Linked DNA regions of Homo sapiens: regions 1 and 3 are each linked to region 2. Evidence: promoter capture Hi-C in 16 types of primary human blood cells and fetal thymus (Javierre and others, 2016). All regions are on one chromosome and are shown on one strand. The core of a region is centred on a gene start or on the middle of the fragment in contact, and the rest is flanking DNA. Distances in the headings are between cores, read along the strand shown. Region 1 holds the start of CD70 (CD70 molecule). Region 2 holds the start of RFX2 (regulatory factor X2). Region 3 holds the start of SAFB2 (scaffold attachment factor B2).

What was found. Contacts are between HindIII fragments. The CHiCAGO score rates a contact against its expected background, and 5 or more counts as called.
Region 1: a contact is called between the fragment with the promoter of CD70 here and the fragment with the promoter of RFX2 in region 2, in 2 of 17 cell types (erythroblasts and total B cells). The highest score is 6.4, in erythroblasts.
Region 3: a contact is called between the fragment with the promoter of SAFB2 here and the fragment with the promoter of RFX2 in region 2, in 6 of 17 cell types (activated CD4 T cells, total CD8 T cells, non-activated CD4 T cells and 3 more). The highest score is 8.0, in activated CD4 T cells.

Annotation. Positions count from the first base shown.
Region 1 is chr19:6,588,708-6,592,657 of GRCh38, reverse strand. It overlaps CD70 (CD70 molecule), which reads left to right and starts at 1,508. Exons shown (of 3, transcript NM_001252.5): 1 at 1,508-1,817; 2 at 2,522-2,555. The coding sequence starts at 1,656. RefSeq lists enhancers at 1-268, 1,339-1,738, 2,239-2,608, 3,787-3,866. The HindIII fragment of the contact is 5,862 bases long and covers 1-3,950 here.
Region 2 is chr19:6,108,127-6,112,446 of GRCh38, reverse strand. RFX2 (regulatory factor X2) reads left to right here and starts at 1,947. Exons shown (of 18, transcript NM_000635.4): 1 at 1,947-2,054. RefSeq lists a silencer at 1,626-2,085 and an enhancer at 2,933-3,433. The HindIII fragment of the contact is 2,952 bases long and covers 939-3,890 here.
Region 3 is chr19:5,621,263-5,625,454 of GRCh38, reverse strand. SAFB2 (scaffold attachment factor B2) reads left to right here and starts at 2,679. Exons shown (of 21, transcript NM_014649.3): 1 at 2,679-2,925; 2 at 4,059-4,146. The coding sequence starts at 2,740. It overlaps SAFB (scaffold attachment factor B), which reads right to left and starts at 2,372. Exons shown (of 21, transcript NM_001201338.2): 1 at 2,061-2,372. The coding sequence starts at 2,249. RefSeq lists enhancers at 1,210-1,941, 1,942-2,674, 2,595-2,934, 3,408-4,140 and silencers at 1,915-1,964, 2,935-3,054, 4,059-4,192. The HindIII fragment of the contact is 4,337 bases long and covers 676-4,192 here.

The sequences.
Region 1 (3,950 bases), core at 259-2,758, 480 kb before region 2:
CTAATCCAGTATGACCTCATTTAAGCCTAATTATATCTGCAAAAAAAACCCCGTAATTTCAAAATGAGGTCATATTCTGCAGTTCCAGGAGGCCATGAATTCTGGGAGGACACCGTTAACCCACTACAGCCATCGAGAACAGCAGCAGGAGGCTGGATGCGGTGGCTCACACCTGTCATCCCGGCACTTTGGGGGACCTACGCAGCAGGATCGCTTGAGCCCAGATGTTTGAGACCAGCCTGGTAACATAGTAACACCCTATCCTCTACCCCCCCCAAAAAAAAAATTAGCCGGGCATGGTAGCGTGTGCTGGTAGACCCAACTATGCAAAAGGCTGAGATGGGAGGGTCACTGAAGCCCAGGAGTTTGAGGCTGCTGTGAGCTGTGTGGCGCCACTGCATCCAGCCTGGGCAACAGAGCAACACTCTGTCTCTAAAAATATTAATTTAGGCCGGGCGCGGCGGCTCACGCCTGTAATCCCAGCACTTTGGGAGGCCAAGGCGGGCAGATCACGAGGTCAGGAGATGGAGACCATCCTCGCTAACATGGTGAAAACCCATCTCTACTAAAAATACAAAAAGTTAGCCGGGCGTGGTGGCGGGCGCCTGTAGTCCCAGCTACTTGAGAGGCTGAGGCAGGAGAATGGCGTGAACCCGGGAGGCGGAGCTTGCAGTGAGCCGAGATGGCGCCACTGCACTCCAGCCTGGGCGACAGAGCGAGACTCTGTCTCAAAAAAAAAAAAAATAAATAATAAAATAAAATAAAAATAAAAAATAAAAATATTAACTTAATTTAACTTTAAACAAAAAAGCAGGTGGTCTCCAAGAATGCAGGAGATAACTGACCGGGTGCAGTGTCTCATGCCTTTAATCCCAGCACTTTGGAAGGCCAAGGCGGGTGGATCACCCAAGGTCAGGAGTTCAAGTCCAGCCTGGCCAACATGGTGAAACCCCATCTCTACTAAAAATACAAAAAATTAGCCAGGCATGGTGGCGCGCGCATGTTACTCCCAGCTACTCGCGAGGCTCAGACAGGAGAATCGCTTGAACCCAGGAGATCGAGGTTGCGGCGAGCTGAGATGGCGCCACTGCACTCCAGCCTGGGTGACAGAGGGAGACCTCCGTCTCAAAAACAAAACAAATCAAAAAAATGCAGGAGAGGGGTACACGAATATTTGGGGAGCACCCCCAATTCTTGGATGTCTGCTGTATCCCCAGTGCACAGCACAATCTAATCCCTAATAAATGTGCAGTGGAGGTTTGTTGAATAAATGAATGGGCCCCAGAAGAATGAGGTGGAGAGGGGAATAGGAAGATTGAATGTCTCCTGCCTGAAGGTCGGGCGGGGAGGGGTTGGGGGCAGGCAACTCTGAGGCTCACCCGGGGCCACTGCCTGCATCCTGGCAACTGCCTCCACCCACTTTAGGATCTTCAGACTGGCAGCGGTTGGAGGGAATTTCCCCTCGCCAATTGCTCAAGTCCCTCCCCTCGACCGGCCGGACATCCCCAGAGAGGGGCAGGCTGGTCCCCTGACAGGTTGAAGCAAGTAGACGCCCAGGAGCCCCGGGAGGGGGCTGCAGTTTCCTTCCTTCCTTCTCGGCAGCGCTCCGCGCCCCCATCGCCCCTCCTGCGCTAGCGGAGGTGATCGCCGCGGCGATGCCGGAGGAGGGTTCGGGCTGCTCGGTGCGGCGCAGGCCCTATGGGTGCGTCCTGCGGGCTGCTTTGGTCCCATTGGTCGCGGGCTTGGTGATCTGCCTCGTGGTGTGCATCCAGCGCTTCGCACAGGCTCAGCAGCAGCTGCCGCTCGAGTCACTTGGGGTGAGTTGAGATGGAAAAGTTGGGAAGAAAACATAGAGAGGCGCGTGACCGAAAAGACAGAATGAGATGGGTACAAAGAGGCCAGAGAGGAAGATCTGGTAGGGCAGAGACAGAGACCAGAACAGGGAGGCGAGGCGGGGACCAGGCTGCCCGGTGTAGGGGCTACGAGACAGGCAGCCCTGCCAGGAGGTACAGGGAGATCCCGGGATGGGAAAGGTAGGCACACATGGAAATGGAAGATGACTCGGCTCTGGTGTTCCCCCGGCAGGCTGACTCAGAGGCTGCTGGGGGCTTCACAAGGCTGGGCGTGGGGGCTTCCTGGGGCCTCCTAGGACGGGATGGCCCCAGCCACTCGCTCCGGGTGGGGGAGGGGTCCCTTTGGGGACCGCGCCGGGCGCCTTTGCAGCGTAGAGAGTCCGCTGCGCGCGGTGCTCTCGCGCCCAGTGACATCCAGGAAAACGATTCGGGAAACGAAGAAGTTCTTTTGAAGGTCTCGACTTCACGTTCCCCGCTGGTTCAGACCTGCTTCCTCTTTAAGAAGTCTTAAGAGTAAAAAAAAATAAAATGAAATAAAATCACCAGTGCGCGCCGTGGGATGAGAGGTGGAAAGGAGGATGGACAGAGAAAAGAGAGCTCCTGGCACAGGGGACACATAGAACCTCTCTGCTTACGTCCGTGCCCTGTTTTCTGGTCTTTTCTTCCAGTGGGACGTAGCTGAGCTGCAGCTGAATCACACAGGTAACACGGGGGACGTGGAGGGACGGGGAGAAGAAGAGGCACAGAGAGAGAAGGAAGGAGAGGTAGAAAGACAAGTGGGGAGAGACAGAGAGAAAGAGACACAGACAGAGACGGAGGGAGAGAGGGAGGGAGAGATAGGGAGGGAAACGGAGAGGGGGAGACAGAGAGAAGACAGAGAGGGAGGGAGAGGCCCAGAGAAAGGGAGGGAGAGACAGAAAAAAGAACAGAGAGAGGGACAGAGGGGACAGACGGGACAGGAGAAGAAGGGGAAAGAAAGAAACAGGGAGAGACGCAGGGAGAGTGGAAGAGGGAGGGAGGGAGACAGGCGGGGGAGACAGAACGAGAGAGAGGGAGAGAGACGGAGAAAGAGAAAAAAGACAGATAGAGGAAGAGAGAATAAAAACGAGAGAGGCGACCTGGCGTGGTTGCTGGAGCCTGTAATCCCAGCGCTTTCGGAGGGCGCGGCGGGTGGATCACTTGAGCCCAGGAGTTTGAGACCAGCCTGGCCAACATGGTGAAACCCCGTCTCTACTAAAATTACAAAAATTAGCCGGGTGTGGTGGCAGGCACCTGTAATCCCAGCTACTCAGGAGGCCGAGGCAGGAGAATCGCCTGAACCTGGGAGGCAGAAGTTGCAGTGAGCCAAGATAATGGCACTGCTCTCCAGCCTGGGTGACAGAGGGAGATTCTGTCAAATAAATAAATAAAAAGAAGAAAGGAAAAGAAAAAGAAAGAAAGGAAGGAAGGAAAAGAAAGAGAAGAAGGAAGGAAGGAGAGAGGGAGGGAGGTGAGAGAGAGAGAAAGGAAAAAGAAAGAAGAAAGAGAAAAAAAGAAATAAGAGAAAGAAAAGAAAGAAAGCCAGAGAGAGGAAAAGAGAAGGAGAATAACAGAGAGGAAGAGACAGAGACAGAGAGGGGGAAGAAGAAAAACAGGGCGGGGGAGAAAGAGATCATTCCCAAGAGAAAAAGGAAAAGGGAGAGAACGAGAGAGAGAGAGAGGAGAGAGAGAGCGAGCAGGTTTGTGTTTCTGGGCATCCACTACCTTTCTCTCCCTTTCCCTCTCAGTCCTTCACATTCGATCTCCTCCCTTGGAAGAATCAAAGGGGTTTTGTTAGTAAACGAAAACGCTCACAGGAAAGGCTACCCTTCCTCCATTCATGCTACAAGCACTAATTATACATCTGCAGTGGGCAGGCACTGTTCCGGTACTGCAGTCGCGCACAAAACAGACAGAAATCCCTGCCTGGTGAGCTTCCCTTCTACTATCACTCCTACCGAGGAGGAGATGACCAAAAAAATAAAAACGAACATGTGAAAAACAGAGCAATGCCACGTAGAGTAAAACAGGCCAAGAGCAGGTTTTAGAGAAAAAATCAGGCAAGGAGGTGGGTGGGGA
Region 2 (4,320 bases), core at 698-3,197:
GGACTTTGGCACTAGACTACTAGGGTTCCGATCCCTCACAAGCTGTTTGACACTGGGCAAATTCACTCATTCTTTCTGGGCCTCAGCTTCCTGATCTGAAAAATGGGGAAAGGCCGGGCATGGTGGCTCATGCCTGTAATCCTAGCACTTTGAGAGTCCAAGGCGGGCGGATCACTTGAGGTCAGGAGTTCCAGGCCAGCCTGGCCAACATGGTGAAACCCCGTCTCTACTAAAAATACAAAAATTAGCTGAGCGTGGTGGCGGGCGCCTGTAGTCCCAGCTACTTGAGAGGCTGAGGCAGGAGAATCACTTGAACCCGGGAGACAGAGGTTGCAGTGAGCGAGCCAGATCGCACCACTGCACTCCAGTCTGGGTGACAGAGAGAGACTCTGTCTCAAAAAAAAAAAAAGAAAAAACAAAACAAATAAAAACGGGGATAATGCCTAGCATCTTTCTAAAGATGCGATTGTAAGATTTAATGAGTTTGCATATTTAAAAAATGCTTAGATCACTTTCAGGCACATAGCAATTTAATCAGTGCTCACTAATATGATTTCTTGTTGAATGAATGAGTGGGGCTGAAGCCTAATCTCCTGCCTTTTCTCAGTACAAGTTGTTTTCTCCTATTCTTCCAGCCCCTTGTCTCGAATAACTATATGTTTACCTCTTTATTCTGTTTGCTGTCAATGTTCCCTCACTAGAATAAAAGTTCTATGAGGATCTGTCTGTTTCTGTCCTACTCGTAGCTGAATCTACCAGCTTGAGAGGAGGGCTGGTGAGTTTGGCAAACATTTTCTGTAAAGGACCGTATAGTAAATATCTTAGGCTTCGCGTGGGACATGCCGTCTTTGCGCAACTACTCCACTCCGCCCCTGTAGTGTCAAAGCAGCCTTCCAAGCTGTTCAAGGAAATGGGCGTGGCTATGTTCCAATAAAGCTTTATTTACAAACCCAAGCAGGCAGAATTTGACCCGCAGGCCGCAGTTTGCCAATCTTTAAACTAGTTCAAAATACTGGGCCCAATACAATAAAAGAGAGTCTCCTATCAGGTTCACACCCCACAAAAGCTCCTTTTGATAGTTTCTTTTTTTTTCTTTCTTTCTTTTTTTTTTTTTTGAGACGGAGTCTCGCTCTGTCGCCCAGGCTGGAGTGCAGTGGTGCGATCTCGGCTCACTGCAAGCTCCGCCTCCCAGGTTCGCACCATTCTCCTGCCTCAGCCTCCCAAGTAGCTGGGACTACAGGCGCCTGCCACCACGCCCGGCTAATTTTTTGTATTTTTAGTAGAGACGGGGTTTCACCGTGTTAGTCAGGATGGTCTCGATCTCCTGACTCCGTGATCCACCCGCCTTAGCCTCCCAAAGTGCTGGGATTACAGGCGTGAGCCACCGCGCCCGGCCGATAGTTTCTTTTAACCATGTAAAAAATATATATATATTTAAATTTTCAGCTGGGGGTCCGTGAAAAACAGGCGGCGAGCGAGAGTTTGCTGACCCCTGATCAGACTGTTCCCACATGTCCCACACTCCTCCTGTGGGGTAAACGGAGTCCCTTGGGTCCCCTAAAACTGGACTTTCCCAAAACGCGCCACCAACCCACGGCGCCGCGCGCGCGACCGGTTCGCCAACCCTCTGAGCCGCGCGCGCCTCCCGCCAAGACCCGCCCCTCTTCGCGGCCATTGGCCGAGTCTCGCACTCTTTTTCAAGGGGGAACGCCTCCTCCTTCCGACAGACTCTGCAGACAGCCAATGGAACGCCGTAGGGTCTCGCGCCCCGCCCTCTTGGGGGCCCGTTGGAGGCGAGCGTGGGCGGGCCGTTAGGAAGGTGGGGCGCGGAGCCTGGTAACCGTTGCCGGTAACAACGCCCCGCCCCGTCGGGCGGGCGGGCTGCGCGAGGCTGGCTGGCGGCGGGAGCCGGAGGAGGAGCGGCCGCCGCCGCCACCGCCGCCGCCATAGAGACTGTAGCCGTGGAGACTGTTACTTACCAACGGGGACCAACACGCAGCAGCCGCTGCCGCCGCCGCGGGAGCCGCTGCCCGAACTCCCGGCCCGAACTCCAGGTGACCGATGCGACCGCCCCGGGCCCAGCCCGGCCGGGGAGTGTGGGGGGCGGCGGGGACCCCGTTCGGGGGCCGGGGGGCGGGCAGCACGTCCCCGCCGCTCACCCCAAACGTCCGGGTGGTGCGCCCGCGGGACCCGCCTCCGCCACCCCGTCCGCGCGCGCGGCGGAGTTTGGGGGGACCCTGGCGACGTCCCCACTTTCCTTATTGACTGAACGCGGGGGAGGTGCGGTGCCGTCGCCTCACTTTTTACAAAACTTCCTGAGGTTGGGGCGTCCGGGGACCCCTTTCTCACGCTTACCTTCAAACTCGCTGAGTTGGGGGCGCCCCGGGAACGTCTCTCAAACTCCTCAAACTCCCTGAATTGGGGGCGCTTGGGGACCCTCTTCTCACCTTAACCCCCTAGATCTCTGAGTTGGGGGCACCCAAGGACCCCTCTTTTACTCATACCCTCGAATTTTCTGAATTGGGGGCGCCAGGGGACCCTCTTCTCACGTTTACTCCCCAGATCTCTGAGTTGGGGGCACCCAGGGACCCTTCTTTTACTCAAACCCTCGAATTCTCTGAATTGGGGGCGCTTGGGGACCCTCTCCTCACTTTTACTCCCCAGATCTCTGAGATGGGGACACCCGGGGACCCCTCTTTTACTCATACCCTCAAACTCCCTGAATTGGGGCCACCTGGGGCCCTCTTCTTACTTTACTCCCCAAACCTCCGAAATTGGGGTGACCCCAGAGCCCTTCTGTCACTCTTAGTCGCAAACTTCTTGCATCGGGGGGACCTCGAAGACTCCCTTCTCATTTTTACCCCAAATTCCTAGATCTGACTTGTCCCGGGGACCCCCTTTTTAATGGACTCCCAGACATACTGAATTTGGGGGCACCCCTGGAACCTTTTTCTCATTCCTTAACTAAAAGCTGGTGCGTCTGCCCTGGGGAGAACCCCTCTTGCCCTTCTCACCTTTTCATCCCAAACTCCCCGAGCGAGCTTCCCCGGGAACTGTTTCTCACCTTTTTGCCCCAAATCCTCGCGTTCAGGTCGCCTCGGACACCCCCTCCCCTTCTCCCTGTGACCCCATATTCCTGAGTATAGGGGTTCGTGCGTCCGCCAGTCTTTCCACGTGCCCCCAAGATGCCCCTCCGCACGTCCGCAGCTCTCCTCTTAGGACTGATCTGGAAGGGAGAAAAGTTTCACCAACGCGAGTGAAACTTTTTTTTTTTTTCAATTTATTTATTTTGTTAAAGAACCTAAACTGCTCCAGGCATTTTCTCCGAGGTAGTGCGAGTGCGTGTGTGTGTTTGTGGATTTAAACTCCACCCCCTGCCCCCACCGCCCACCAGCGCGCTCGCGGGCGCACACACACACTCACACACACACACTCACTCACACCCCAAATGCTCATTTCTTTCTTTTTCCTCCCTCCGAGAAGCCTCCGCGCTCCCTCGCCACCAGCCTCCGGCTCCGTTCCTTTTGGTTTTCCTCGCTGCACCGCTGGGAAAGTTGGATTTCCCGATCCTAGTGGCTATTTCAAGGGCCCCCGAGGGCCCCAAGCGCCCGGGCCATTCTGGCGGCTGCCGGCGCGGTTCATCTTCCTATTTTAACCTCCTGGTTGTGCGGCAAGAATGGGGAGGGGAGAGGGCAAGATGGAGCTCGGGACCCAGGGCTGGCTGCCTTACCCCCGCCCCCCCAGGCTTCATTCCTACTTTGGGGTGTTGTTAGCATTGTGCCTCCCTGCAATTATTTTCCTGCTTTGTATCATAAATGACCAGCGCAGGCTTCGATGAGTTCTTTTCCCTCTCAGTCAGCTTCATCTCTGTATCAAACCTTGTACAAGCTTCATTCTCTGTTTCAACTAAGAGTTCCCCAACAAAGTAACAGTAATAATAATAATGACACAAAACAACAAAGACTTTTTAAAAAAATTTTTGCCTGTACATATTGTTGACATGTATTTTATCTTTTTACATCGTGCCCTGAAACATTGTTTGCTTATGGAAAGATCCTTACCTCCCGTCCTTCTGGATAAGGAGGAGGGGGGCATCTGTGCTTTCTCCTGCTCTAGTTTAAAGACTTGAACTGACTCTAAAATAACCTTAGAAACGACAACTCACCTACTCTGACCAGAGAAGTAAGAGTTTATGGTAACCTCCCTAGGAAAAGAATTTAAGTTCTTGAATTACTAGGGCTTCTTCATCAACAGGCGTGGTACGGAAGGCAACTTATAATGTATGATGGGAAAGATCACTGTTCTGTGATTCTGTGACAG
Region 3 (4,192 bases), core at 1,430-3,929, 490 kb after region 2:
GCCTGGGGGTTCCACATCTCATCTTTACCAGCAGCAACAAAAATCTCTCCTCTCAGAAGCCAGAAAAGGGACTGAAGTTCTTTCCTGGGATCAAGGAAAAGTACAATCACCAAGTCCCTCACCCTTTTCCCGGGGACAGGCAATTCTGAAACACCACCAGGAGAAGAGAAGCAATGCCCTAGGCAGGTGTCCTGTTTCCCCTTTTTGTTCTTTTGCCCTTCCTGGAAAAATAAACCAAGAAAGGGACACCAACAGGATGACAGAAACGGGAAGAGAATGAGATCAGGAACTCCAGACTGGCTTGGGTGAGTGGCAGACAGGGATATGGGCTGGCGGTATTCGTGTTTTGGGACCACATCTTGAAGAAAATGAAAAGGAGAAGGAAGAAGGAACAAATCTGTGCTCTCAGAGATGACAGCGAGTGATGGGAAGTCTCAGTCACCAGCTTGACAGGAAGATCACAGCAGCTTTTCAGGCCTATGGACCGTCCAGGGAGAAAAAAAGGATAAAGCCTCTTAATTTGGCTTAGCTGATGGGAGGCCCTGGTGGCGGGGCACCACACCTGACCAGCCGCCAATCTCCACTCTCTGCATTTTCTCTGGGTAAATATGTAGATCAGTGGGCTTCCTGCCTTATCTGAGTAAAGAGAATCCATAGTGAAAAGAAACACAAGCTTGAGCTTTTAAAAGGCCCATGTGACTCTGGCCGAGACAACTATCCACCCTTGAGCCCAGGGTTTCTCATCAGGAAAAAAAAAAAAAAAAAAATCCCTACTTCTTCTCATCACCAATTAATAATAAAGCCCTGTGATCTCCGTAGTTCCGGAGTCAGGATGGTGGGATGTGTCAACAGCCCCACTGCCTGCAGGGGCTGGGGGGTGGGCGGCCAGGCGGAGCAACTACAGGGGAGAGGTCCCAGAGTAGCCAGGTGGAAAAAAGGCAGAGAAAAAAAGCTACAGGAATAAGGAAACCGCAGGTGGCTAACCTTTACTTGCCTCTCTGCTTTTCCTAGGGATCCCTTTGAATCCCCCAAGGGAGGCGTTAGAGCCCCCGATCTGCAAATGAGGACTCGTGGTGGCACAGAGAGGAAAAGCGAATCGTGATGGCAACCACACACCGAGTGTTTACATGCGCCAGGCAGCACGCCAAGCCTGCTCCACGCAAACTTATTTAATCCCCAAATCAAAGTCCTATTGCTTTTTTGCTTCTTACAGGAGAAAAAAAAAAAAAAAGAATAGAAAAGAGGACTCAGAAGGGGTTCAAGGTCTCCTATGCCCAAGATCAGGCCACCGAGAGCTGGCAGGGTCCCCAAGTCCAGAGAGACTGACGGAGCTGGGGGAGCCCAGGCTCTGCCCGCCTCCCGGGCAGTTCTGAGGCTGGTTTTAAAGTCCACCCGGGGTCTCCCCTCATTTCACATTTCTGATCACTACCGTCAACACCACTTTTCCTTCCTGCCACGTTACTTCACCGAGCGAGTACCGGCAAACCGTGAAAACTGGATTGTGGTGGGTTTTTTTCTATTTTTCCCTTTGAGTATGTCCTACGGGTGTTTCCTTTGTAAATCAGCCCCGATTCAGGCTGGTCGGTCCCCTGTGGGTCACAAAGCATCTTCCCTGGGGAAACCAAGCAGCCGAATCAGGAATCCCAGGGCCTGGGTTCAAATCCCGACGCTGCCCGTCCTCGGCCGTGTGACCTTGGCCGAGTCCCTTCCCCTCGCCTGGGAAGTGAGGGTTTCAGGGTCTCCCCTCCAGGTACGGAGGAGGGGACGAGACGAGGGGAGAACCCTCCTCTCAGTGGACGATGTCACCCGTCACCGTTTCTCCTGCACGCGTGCCGTTTTTGTGGTTCTCCTGGCCCCATTGCGGCGTTAGGATTTGAACCCAGGCCCAGCCGGCCAAGGAACTCTCTCCGGGGCCTCGGAGGAGCCGGGGGACGCGAGAGCGCCAGGTCCGGCGAGGCCGCGAACGCGGCCGGGGGCGGACGCCAGGGCCCGCGAGCCACCGTCGCGGCCAAGAGGACCCCAGACCCACCCTGTGCCCGCCCTCGGGGCCCCAAATCCACCTTCTTCAGCCGCTCCATCAAAACGCTCTTGTTGCCGCTCGAGTCCACATTCCGTTTCCTCAGCTCCGCCCGCAGATCGATCACTCGCAGGTCGCTGAGGCGCCGCGTCCCGGTCTCTGACGAGGCGGAGCTCAGAGCCGCCGCGCCCGCCGCTCCAGAATCACCTAGGCCTGACAGAGTCTCCGCCATTCCAGGGACCCTGGCTCCGCCGCCCACTTTCCACAGAACCGGGCCGGTTTTATCAGGCTCCTAGCACAAAATGGCGCCGCCTGCGAGGGAACCGCTCCAGTCGCCCCAGCGCGCCTCGCTTCTGCGCAGGCGCACCAAGCGTAGGTTCTAGTATCCCGGTTGCAACTGCACATGCGCAGTGAGAACAACGCGGGGATGTGCGCAGACGCGTTGCGTCTCGTCAGCCTCCCGCCGGGAACTGCCGGGACGCATGCGAGCTGCAGATTCAGCGCTTGCGCGTTGTGCCGGGGAACCCGCGGTTGGTGGACGCGCGAGCGTCCTTGCTGCTAAGTACGCTAGTGGGGGCGGTGCGCGTGCGCGTGCGCGGCCGCAAAGCGGGGCGGGAGGAAACGAGTGCGTTTTCCTCTTAGGCGGCGCCATTTTGTGTTCAGAGCCGCTATAGCTGCCGGCGGTGTGCGACTGAGTCGGTGGCGAAGACGGGAACGCGACGATGGCGGAGACTCTGCCCGGGTCGGGCGACTCGGGCCCTGGCACGGCTTCTCTCGGCCCGGGCGTTGCGGAGACTGGGACGAGGCGGCTCAGCGAGCTGCGGGTGATCGATCTGCGGGCGGAGCTGAAGAAGCGGAACCTGGACACGGGCGGCAACAAGAGCGTCCTGATGGAGCGGCTCAAGAAGGTGAGGCGGCGCGGGGCTCGGGGGTGGCGCAGGAGGCCCGGGCACGCCCCCGCCTGCACCTGTCACCGCGGCTCCCGGACCCGGGGCGCCCTGGGTTCGCCCCGCGTCTTGGCCGACCCCGGTTCGAGGTGTCGGGCACCCAGGGGGCCGGCTGTGTGACCTTGGCCCGTCACCGCTCCTCTCTGTGCCTCCCTTCCTATCCTCTTTCCACCTTTTCTCCTCAAGCGCGCTCAGCGTGCGGTCTTCTCCGCTACCAGGGTGGCCCCGGGACCCCTCCTGGGGCTCCCGATCGAGCCTTGGCTCTGTGACCTTGGGCAGGTGCCTTTCTCTCTGTGCCTCAGTTTCCTCCTCCGGAGAATGGGTGTCTGGCGGACTCCAGAGCATTTACAGGAAAGGGGGCGGTGCTTGTTCTTGCCCCAGGGCTTTGGCCTTTACGAAGCTGTCCACCCGGGTCCCCCAGATCTTCTCGTGGCCGGCCCCTTGTTGTCATTTTGGGTCTGCCTGAGACATCACCTTCCTGAGCGCCCTTCCTAATGCGCTGCCCCACCTCCTTGCCAGCTCATCCTGCGTTTGTGTCGCACCTCGCTGAAAGCAGGGGCTAAATGCAAAATATTAAGGGGTTGGGAATTGTCTGTTTCCGCAACTGGAACAAACAACTTGAGCATAGGGAGGGAGCTTGTGGGTACCCAGTCCTGGACCCGGCAGGTGGCAGGCACTGAGGGACCTGTTGAATCTCCCCAGGCTGGCTGCTGTTCCTCCTCACCAGCGGTGGCCAGCCCTTCACCGAGGCCGGGCCAAGTGCAGCCTCTCTGTTCTAATTTGTCCCATCATATAACTTTAAAGTCGAAGGTTTGGCATTGTCGAGTTGAGTTGCCATTTTGGAACTGGTCCTTGACCCCAATTCTGGAGCTCCTGCTCACAGCCTCCCTCTCCTTTGTCATTTGGACCCAGAGAGACCCAAGTTGTGCGGGGTTCCTCCTCCGCCTTTTGGGCTTGCGGCCCAGATAGCTGACCCGGAGTTGCTCTTTGCAAGGACGGGTTTGCCTTTGTTTCATGGGAGGTTGTTACTTGTAAGGAACAGTGTGTGCCCTGCAGCTCTTAATGATGTTGTAAAACTCATCTCTCCCTAATAGGCGGTTAAAGAAGAGGGGCAAGATCCTGATGAAATTGGCATCGAGTTAGAAGCCACCAGCAAGAAGTCAGCCAAGAGATGTGTTAAAGGTATTGTACATATGCTGCTTGGGGCTTGAGTGTTCAGAGAATTTAG